Regions from separate parts of the Homo sapiens genome. Here region 1 is linked to region 2. Evidence: promoter capture Hi-C in 16 types of primary human blood cells and fetal thymus (Javierre and others, 2016). All regions are on one chromosome and are shown on one strand. The core of a region is centred on a gene start or on the middle of the fragment in contact, and the rest is flanking DNA. Distances in the headings are between cores, read along the strand shown. Region 1 overlaps NDC80 (NDC80 kinetochore complex component). Region 2 holds the start of TYMS (thymidylate synthetase).

Region 1 (4,416 bases), core at 978-3,477, 1.9 Mb before region 2:
CTGTCTCTACTAAAAAAAATGAAAATTAGCTGGGCATGATGGTGCACTCCTGTAGTCCCAGCTACTTGGGAAACTGAGGGAGGAGACTTGCTTGAACCCCGGAGGCGAGGGTTGCAGTGAGCCAAGATTGAGCCACTCTACTCCAGCCTGGGCGACAGAGTGACACTCTGTCTCTCAAAAAAAAAAAAACAAAATAAAACAAAAACAAAATAAAATTTAAATATGTCTCATCCACTCATGCCATGAATGGCTTTACATAATCAAGAAAGTTCAAACACTCATAGAATAAAAACATCTTAGATTAACAGTTATAAAATTAATGTCTCAAACTAAATCACTCTGGAATGGCAAATGATTAAGTATTTCTCTCTCACCTACTGAGTTTGCAGCTATCAGAAAAAGTTCTCACAAGAACAAGAAGGATGTATGACAATTCTCTTGATCATATGCTGACAAGAAAGATAAAGTATTAGTATTAGAAAGTATTGATTAAAGGCCGGGTGCTGTGGCTCACGCCTGCAATCCCAGCACTTTGGGAGGCCGAGGTAGGTGGATCACGAGGTCAGGAGTTTGAGACCAGCCTGGCCAGCATGGTGAAACCCCGTCTCTACTAAAAATACAAAAAAGTAGCCGGGCATGGTGGCGTGCACCTGTAATCCCAGCTACTCAGGAGGCTGAGGCAGAAGAATTATTTGAACCCGGGAGGCGGAGGTTGCAGTGAGCGGAGATGGTGCCACTGCACTTCAGCCTGGGTGACACAGCAAGACTACATCTCAAAAAAAAAAAAAAAAAGTATTGATTAATTGCATTATAAAAATTATTATAATAATAATTTAGTCCAAGCTTCTTTGTCATCATGAAGAATAAACAAAGGACATTGATTAGGGGCCAAGTGTAAAGTAGTTAATATATTTAAAGAGTTGGTTTAGAGCAAATCCAATATATATATATAAATCAGAGTTATTTGGAAAAAAAAAACAGATTCAGCAAATAACCCTGGTAATTACTAGTCTTGAGTTGACAATCAATACTCCATAGACTAAGAGTTAAATCAAATATCCTAAGGGCCATGTATACAACTCCCATGTGGGACAGACACAGCCAGCAAAATCCCAAAAGAAACAAACAGAAGTAGGCAAAGTCCTGGGAAAACAGTATAGTTGTCAATAAATTTATTTTTAAAAGTACAGCCCAGTGGCTCTGTGACTTGCAGATACCTTTCTTTACTCTCCTTCAGGCACTGCAGAAGAATCAAGCAATTGCATGTGCCATAGTGTTTTACAGAATTTTATGATTAAGATTGCTGTGTTTATGAAAGTAAGCTTACAAGACATAAGACATAAAAGAGCTTTCTTTGGTTGCTCTTTTCCCCGAGAACTGTAGTACTTGCAGCTTTAATTTTGATTTTCAATCAGTTTCAGCTGCTGAGGTGCTTAGGCGGTAGTGATGGAGGATAGCCAGTTATAGCAGACTGAGGCAGGCAGACATCAAGAATCTGGCTTATTAGAGCCAAGCATGGTGGAGCCCACCTATTATAGTCCCAGCTACGTGGGAGACTGAAGTGGGAGGATTATTTGAACCCAGGAGTTCGAGACTGGCCTGGGCAAAATAGCAAGACTTCATCTCAAAAAAAACAAAAGAATCTGGTTTATCTGGCTTATTAACCACAAAGTGGAATACAGTATATATTTGTATAGAATTTTTATATATTTCTATATTCAGGCAGCATGTTTTCTTAGGTTGGGTCCTTCTTGGCTTCAAAAAGCCAAATGCTTGAAAACATGTAAGGAGTAGTAGGTTGAACAATGGCCACCTAAATATATAAAGTTCTATCTCTGGAAACTGTGAAATTACCTTATTTGGGAAAAGGGTCTTTGCAGATGTGATTAAGTATCTTGAGATGAAGAGAGAGCCCTGTATTATTATCCAGGTGGGCCCTAAATCTCATCTCAAATGTCCTTATAAGATAGAGGCAGAGGGAGATATTTCACACAGGTAGTAGAGTACAAACACAGAGGAGAAGGCAATGTGAAGATGGAGGCAGAGATCGGAGTGATGTGAACATAGCCCAGTAATGCTGCCAGCCACTAAAAGCTGCAAGAGGCAAGGAATAGATCCTCCCTGAGTCCTTGGAGGGATGCAGATCTGCTGGAACAGCCTCTAGAACTGTGCGATAATACATTTCTGTTGTTTTAAGCCATCCAAACTTGTGATCATTTGTGACAGCAGCCTTAGGAAACAAATACGAAACACACTGAAAACTTGGTAGCCTGCTCTAAGCATGTACCACAGAACAACAAAAGATATGGATAACAAAGCTGTTTTTACATGTGACAAATCCCACACAGGTTCGCATCCCAGTCTTTTAGCATTAGCTCTGCTTACCTACTCTAGCAATTTCCTCATTGAGACCATTTAATTTCTGGTCAAGAATGGCTGAATGAGACTCCAAATTGCTCATGTATGCCTGATACTTTTGAACATCTCCTTGTAAGGAAGCCTTCAGTTTTCTCAACGACTCTAGACGATTCTTTAAGAGAAAAGAATATAACTTTAGTTATTCTTAATAACCATTCCATATTTTATTTTAAAGTAAAGCAATATTATTTAAATTTATTTTAGAGAAAGGTAGATTTGAGTTTTCCTTTCATTTTTAGAGGAAGTCAAAAGAACTAAAAGGGGACTACACTGTCAGTTTGAAATAGAAAAAAAAAAAAACCACAATTGCTAGGGTTGAAAAAGCACAAATATTTAAAATCTGGTATTTTACAACAACAGTTTGAGTGCTTCACTAATAATGCAGAAAATAAAGTTAGATAACTGGATATTAATATTTAGCTTTTAGAAAACTCAGGATACAATATACTATATAAACCCATTTATTAACCATTCCTTTTGCACTACCTCCAAAACTCAGGGCTTCTTGTGACTAATGCTCCCTAGAGGTATATAACACAGGGCCTTTGTTCAAAAGTACTTTTGATCTTATGTAAGTAGGTAAGAATCTTTCATCATATCCAGAGCACCATTAGTCTAAGACTGATAGACCGCAAGGGAAAACAAGGCTCCACAGATACCAAACATGTTTTCATTGGGAGTTTCTAGGTGAAAATTTAACTTTTAAGAAGCTTAATTTGTTAATCTATTTTTTAAAATTTTGATAAAGACAGCTAATATCCAAGGACACCCAAAAGTCTAAAAGAGCTCTCAAGTAAGTGTGTAAACATGTTTACTAACCGGTTCTTTTTCTCTTTCTTGTTCCAATCTTGCAATCTGTTCATTCAATGCTCTGTTTTTTGCTTCTAATGATTCCAGCTTAAAAGCATCCACATTAAATAAATCCTCTGGAGACAAAATCCAAAAGCTTTTTAAGACCTCAAATCCGCCTAGAACATTCTTTCCCAAGTTTTCACCATTACTCCCTCCCTCACTTCCTTCTGGTCTCTGCCCAAAACACTATTAGTGAAGTACATCCCATCCTTGTAAAACAGCAAACCCTTTCCATTACTCCACCGTACTTCGACTCTCCTTGTCCTGCTTGATTTTTCTCCAAAGCGCTTATCACCATTTGACTTAAAGTTGCTCATTTCATTATTTTCCTCTTTCTGTCTACTAAAATGTAAGCTCATAAGGGCAGAGGTTTTTATCCTATTCATTACTGTATCCTCAGTGCCTAAATGGTGGCTGGCACATAGTAGGTATACAAAAAATATTTATTTGAATAAATGAATGCAGTTTTTATGCTTGGTTAATTATATACAGAAATATCAAATTACTCATTAGATGCTTAGATCACTCTAAATTTTCCTCTCTTAAAACAAAGCCATTTATTTTGCTCCCTTTCCCATGTGAACAAGCTGAAATTGTCCTGGTTACTCTTCAGGAAGATACAATCCCAGGGGACTATAAGGGAATGCTTTCAGCTTTTGTGATAATACTGGCAAAGTGATTGATTCCATTGTTGGAGGAATAGCTTCACCTCCATTTATCTATTTTACCTTCCATTTTGGCATTTTATATACAAGACTATTTCAATAGAAAGAATGAAAATGTAAAATAATACCTCTGGAATGTTTTAGAGTTATCTAGTAAATACTGTATGTCACTAGGTTGTAAATGAGTAAAAAAAAAAAAAGATTTTCCTTACATATTTGGAAGTATAATGTCTTGTTAACTTTTTGCCACAAATTTTGAAAGAGACCTTAGGTCTTTTGACTAATTGGTGCTTTAATTTCTCAAATAGTAAGCAAGGACAACGTAGGGATATTATCCCCCAAGAGGAATAGCATTTGCTAATTATTGTCTATGCTTCTGGTAGCATGTTTGGTATATTATGACTTTATTATACTGTCATCTACTGCTGCTACACTTTGTCAGGAGGTCAAGTATTTTATTAAGGCGCCACAGACAGTAAGA
Region 2 (4,817 bases), core at 1-2,500:
CTAGATGGGTCCGTGGGCCGGAGGGCTTTTCCGCTAGCTACAGTGAATCTGCTTCACCACGAATGGGTTTCCCCATTCAAAACCACCTCCACCCCTGTGTCAAGGCTGCGCTCCATTTATCTGAGCGGTCAAGGTCAGCCCCTGGCTCACACACCTTCGAGTCCCCTCCCCCGCGCAGCTGGCGCAGGATCCAGGACGGCAGGACGGTGTGGCCTTAGGGAGGGCCAACGGCTGCCTAACGTCCTGTGCCCACCCCGCCCCGCCCCACTGTCCCCTGAAAGCCTGGCGCCAATGACCCGCGAGACATTTTTTGCCTGGGGTGCTCCTGTCGGAAAGGAAAGAGGAAAGGACGACTAAGAACTTATACTCGAACTCCCGAATTTCTCTTTTCAAGGTTTAAGAGGAAAGCTGGTTCGTGGGGATTGGATGGGAGGCCACCAGGAAACCAAGTTCCCGCGCCAGCTTCAGTGCTCTCCTCTTCCCGCCGCCTTTGCCCCGCCCACATCACTTTCGCTCCAGTTTTTGAAAACGCTGCGAAGCGGAATGGTCCACAGGGGAAAACGGAGGAGGGGCCAAAGCCAGGACTTTGAGACCGGCGCGCGGTCAAGCCCAGGCAGCTCTCCCTAACCCTCCAGCACTGGGCAAACGCTGCCCGATGACGCCCGCCTCGGGGGCCACGGCATCACTGGGGCGACTGCGAGCCCGGCCGCGGAGCCGCTGGGACGCGGCTTACCTCCCGGCTGTCGCTGCTGTGTGTGTTGCCCGCGCCAGTCACGTCCCTAATGGGACCCTCCGTTTCGGCGTCTGTAAGGCGAGGAGGACGATGCGTCCCCTCCCTCGCAGGATTGAGGTTAGGACTAAACGGGGTCCGCAGCGCCCGGCAGCTCCCGAGCGCTCTCCCCAGCCGCGCCTCCCTCCTTCCCGCCACCCGTCCCGCAGGGGCCCGCGGCGTCACCTCTCAGGCTGTAGCGCGCCTGCATGCCGAATACCGACAGGGTGCCGGTGCCCGTGCGGTCGTCCTTCCTGACGCCGCAGCGGAGGATGTGTTGGATCTGCCCCAGGTACTGCAGCTCCCCGTGCGGCGGACGCGGCTCGGCGTCCCGCTCCTGTGCGGCGGGGGGCAAGGGCCGGCGCGGCAGCTCCGAGCCGGCCACAGGCATGGCGCGGCGGGCGGGGGACGGAGGCAGGCGAAGTGGCGCGGCGGGACGGAGGCAGGCCAAGTGGCGCGGCGGGACGGAGGCAGGCCAAGTGGCGCGGTGGCAGGACCCCTTCCGCGCGCCTTTTCCCGCGGCCGTCCCGCGCTCCGCCTCTTCCTGCTCGGCGGGGTCGCGGCGGCCCCCGCTCTAGAGAGCGTGCGCCAGGGGGAAACGCAGGAGCCACGGGTGTGGCACAGAACGGAGCCCAGGGCCACAGCTGAGAGTCTTAGGAAACCCGGGAACCTGGATGCAGGTGCGGTGGCTGGGAAGGACTGCGCCCTTTGGGAACCGTCTGGTCGACCGCGCCTTCTCTAAGCCAGCAGCACAGTTCCCACGTTTTCCTGCGGTCTTGTCAACAAAACTGCTGTTTGAGATCTGTTTCCTACAACTAATAAGGGATTTGCATTTCCATTTCTTCGTTCTCACTGAAGCAACCGAAGCAAGTGGTATAATGCAGCTTTTCTACTTGATTAAAAACCGCCAGGGCGCTGGACGCGGTGGCTCACGCCTGTAATCCTAGTACTTTGGGGGGCCGAGGCGGGTGGATCACCTGAGGTCAGGAGTTCAAGACCAGCCTGGACAACATGGTGAAACCCCCGTCTCTACTAAAAGTACAAAAATTAGCTGGGCGTGGTGGCTACTTGGGAGGCTGAGGCAGAAGAATTGCTTGAACCTGGGAGGCAGAGGTTGCAGTGAGCCAAGATCCGACCATTGTACTCCAGCCTGGGCGACAGAGCAAGACTGTCCCAAAAAAAAAAAAAAAAAAAAAAAAAAGACCGCCAGGGCTTTTCCGAGGTTTTTTGTTTGAGCCCTGGCGGTCTTTTTTTTTTTTTTTTGAGACAGAGTCTCGCTCTCTCACCCAGGCTGGAGTGCAATGGTGCGATCTCGGCTCACTGCAACCTCCGCCTCCTGGGTTCAAGCAATTCTGCTGCCTCAGCCTCTCGCGTAGCTGGGACTACAGGCGCCGCCACCACGCCCGGCTAATTTTTTTTTTTCATGTTTAGTAGAGACGGGGTTTCGCCATGTTAGCCAGGCTGGTCTCAAACTCCTGACCTCAGGTGATCCACCCACATTGGCCTCCCAAAGTGCTGGGATTACAGGCGTGAGCCACCGCACTCGGCCCCAAGTTTTTAATAGACCACATTTCCCAGTTTTACTGAATTGTTTATAACATTAACACTGGGGAGTGGGAACTGTTGATGAAAAGAGTTAAACTCTGTAAAATATCTGAAGAAATTTATTCTGAGCCAAATATGAGTGACCAATGGCCGGTGATAGAGCCCTCAGCAGATCCTGAGAACATGTCCCCAAGGTGGTTGGGCTACAACTTGATTTTTTATACATTTGGTTGAAAGAATTGTTATCTAAAGATCTGGAATCAATAGAGGGCTGGGCGCGGTGGCTCACGCCTGTAATCCCAGCACTTGGGAGGTCGAGGCGGGCAGATCACGAGGTCAGGAGATTGAGACCATCCTGGCCAACATAGTGAAACCCTCTCTACTGAAAATACAAAAATTAGTGGGGCGAGGTGGCACACGCCTGTAACCCCAGGTACTCAGGAGGCTGAGGTAGGAGAATCGCTTGAACCCAGGAGGCGGAGGTTGCTTGCAGTAGCTGAGAAAGCGCCACTGCACTCCAGTCTGGGTGACAGAGCCGTATGGGGAAAAAAAAAAAAAAGATTTGAATGAATAGAAAGGAATATCTGGGTTAAGATAAGGGGTTGTGGAGACCATGGATTCATCATGCAGATTAAACCTCCAGGTAGCAGGCTTTAGAGAGATAGATTGTAAATGTTTCTTGTCAGACTTAAAGAGTGTGTTCTACCTGTCTTGAGGCCTGTGTTGATGTCAATGCTGGTCAGCTGTGCCTAAATTCCAAACGGAGGAGGGAATAATGAGGCATGTCTGGCTCCCCTTCCCATCATGGCCTGAACTAGTTTTTGTGGTTAAATTTGGAATGCCTTTGACCCAGAGGAGTGGTCTTTTCAGATGGTTCTGGGCGTAGAATTTTATTTTTGGTTTACAGAACGATTTTATAATGAGTTTAAAATGCACTGATACATGTGTTGTACTTGCAAGCATCCTTTTACCTCAACGGTTGATTGAGTACAGAGGTGCTCTCAGCATTTTGGGTGGGACTTTTCTTAGCTGGACCGGTTTGTTCTGCACATTGCAGGGCTTTAGCAGGACTGTGGAAAGCCAACCATATGTTGGCATTCCCCCACCCCACACCAGCTGAAAACTGTCCCTACACGTTTCCCTACACGTTTCCGAGCACGAGGAAGATCCCAGGCTGAAAATATTCCAGATTATCCAGATGCACGTTATCTGTGTTTAATTTCCTTGTGTTATTCTTTTTCCTTTTTTTTTTTTTTTTTTTTTTTTGAGGTGGAATCTTGCTCTGTCCCTCAGGCTGCAGTGCAGTGGTGCTCAGCTCACTGCAAACTCCGCTGCATGGGTTCAAGCAATTCTGCCTCAGCCTCCCAAGTAGCTGGAACTATAGGCGCCTGCCACCATGCCCAGCTAATTTTTTTTTCTTTTTTTTTTTTTTTGCATTTTTAGGAGAGACAGGGTTTCACCATGTTGGTCAGGCTTGTCTCAGACTTCTGATCTGAAGTGATCTGCCCACCTCGGCCTCCCAAAGTGCTGGGATTAAAGGCGTGAGCCACCATGCCCAGCCTTACTTGTGTTATTTTTTAAAAACCTGATACATAATAATTGTGAGGTAGACAGGGCTTGACTCTGGAGGCAGGGCTCTGACATGGGACCAAATTGAGGAGTAGTCAAAACAAGGATGGGGCAGAAGTAGTTTTCCATAAGACGTGCCCACCAGTGTGCCATGTCAGTTTACGATTGTCATGGCAACATCCAGAGCTTACTGCCCCTTTCCATGGCAGTGAGCCGACAACCGGAAGTTACCACCCTTTTTCTAGACATTTCTGCATAATCTGCCCCTTAATTTGCATGTAATTGAAAGTAGGTTATAAATATCACTGCAGACCTGCCTTTAAGCTACTGCTGTCAGCACACTGCCTATAGGGTAGCTCTGCTCTACAGGGGCACTCAGGGAGCTGTTGCCATATCAGTAGAGCTTTTCTTCTACCAGGTAGCTCTTAAATTCTTTCCTGAGCAAAACCAAGAACCCTCCTGAGCTAAGCCCAATTCTGGGCTCACCTGCCCTGCATCAGTTGCACATCCTTGTGTGTTTTTTTTCTTTCTTTCTTTTTTTCTTTTCGACGGAGTCTCGCTCTGTCACCCAGGCTGGAGTGCAGTGGCAGAATCTCAGCTCACTGCAACCTCTGCCTCCCAGGCTCAAGCAATTCTCCTGCCTCAGCCTCCCGAGTAACTGGGATTACAGGCACCCATCACCATGCCCAGCTAGTTTTTGTATTTTTAGTAGAGATGGAGGTTCACCATGTTAGCCAGGCTGGTCTCGAACTCCTCACCTGAAGTAATCTGCCTGCCTCGAGCCTCCCAAAGTGCTGGGATACAGGCGTGAGCCACTGCACCCGGCCCCTTGTGTTATTTTGAGGCTGGTTTATTTGTTTCACCCAAATACCAGCTAAATCACATCTCAAGACTAGGCTCCTCTGCCCACATGGAGCTTCCACTTCTGCTGCCT

Evidence for each region. Contacts are between HindIII fragments. The CHiCAGO score rates a contact against its expected background, and 5 or more counts as called.
Region 1: a contact is called between a fragment that was not itself captured here and the fragment with the promoter of TYMS in region 2, in 1 of 17 cell types (fetal thymus). The highest score is 5.3, in fetal thymus.

Annotation. Positions count from the first base shown.
Region 1 is chr18:2,588,132-2,592,547 of GRCh38, reverse strand. NDC80 (NDC80 kinetochore complex component) reads right to left here. Exons shown (of 17, transcript NM_006101.3): 9 at 3,238-3,344; 10 at 2,386-2,530. Among named protein-coding and RNA genes, the nearest start is that of NDC80, 19 kb to the right of the region's middle. RefSeq lists an enhancer at 2,215-3,414. The HindIII fragment of the contact is 1,806 bases long and covers 1,325-3,130 here.
Region 2 is chr18:654,086-658,902 of GRCh38, reverse strand. TYMS (thymidylate synthetase) reads right to left here and starts at 1,250. Exons shown (of 7, transcript NM_001071.4): 1 at 956-1,250. The coding sequence starts at 1,160. TYMSOS (TYMS opposite strand RNA) reads left to right here and starts at 612. Exons shown (of 2, transcript NR_171001.1): 1 at 612-1,061. RefSeq lists enhancers at 538-657, 525-1,024, 1,025-1,526 and silencers at 888-937, 1,108-1,287. The HindIII fragment of the contact is 8,200 bases long and covers 1-4,817 here.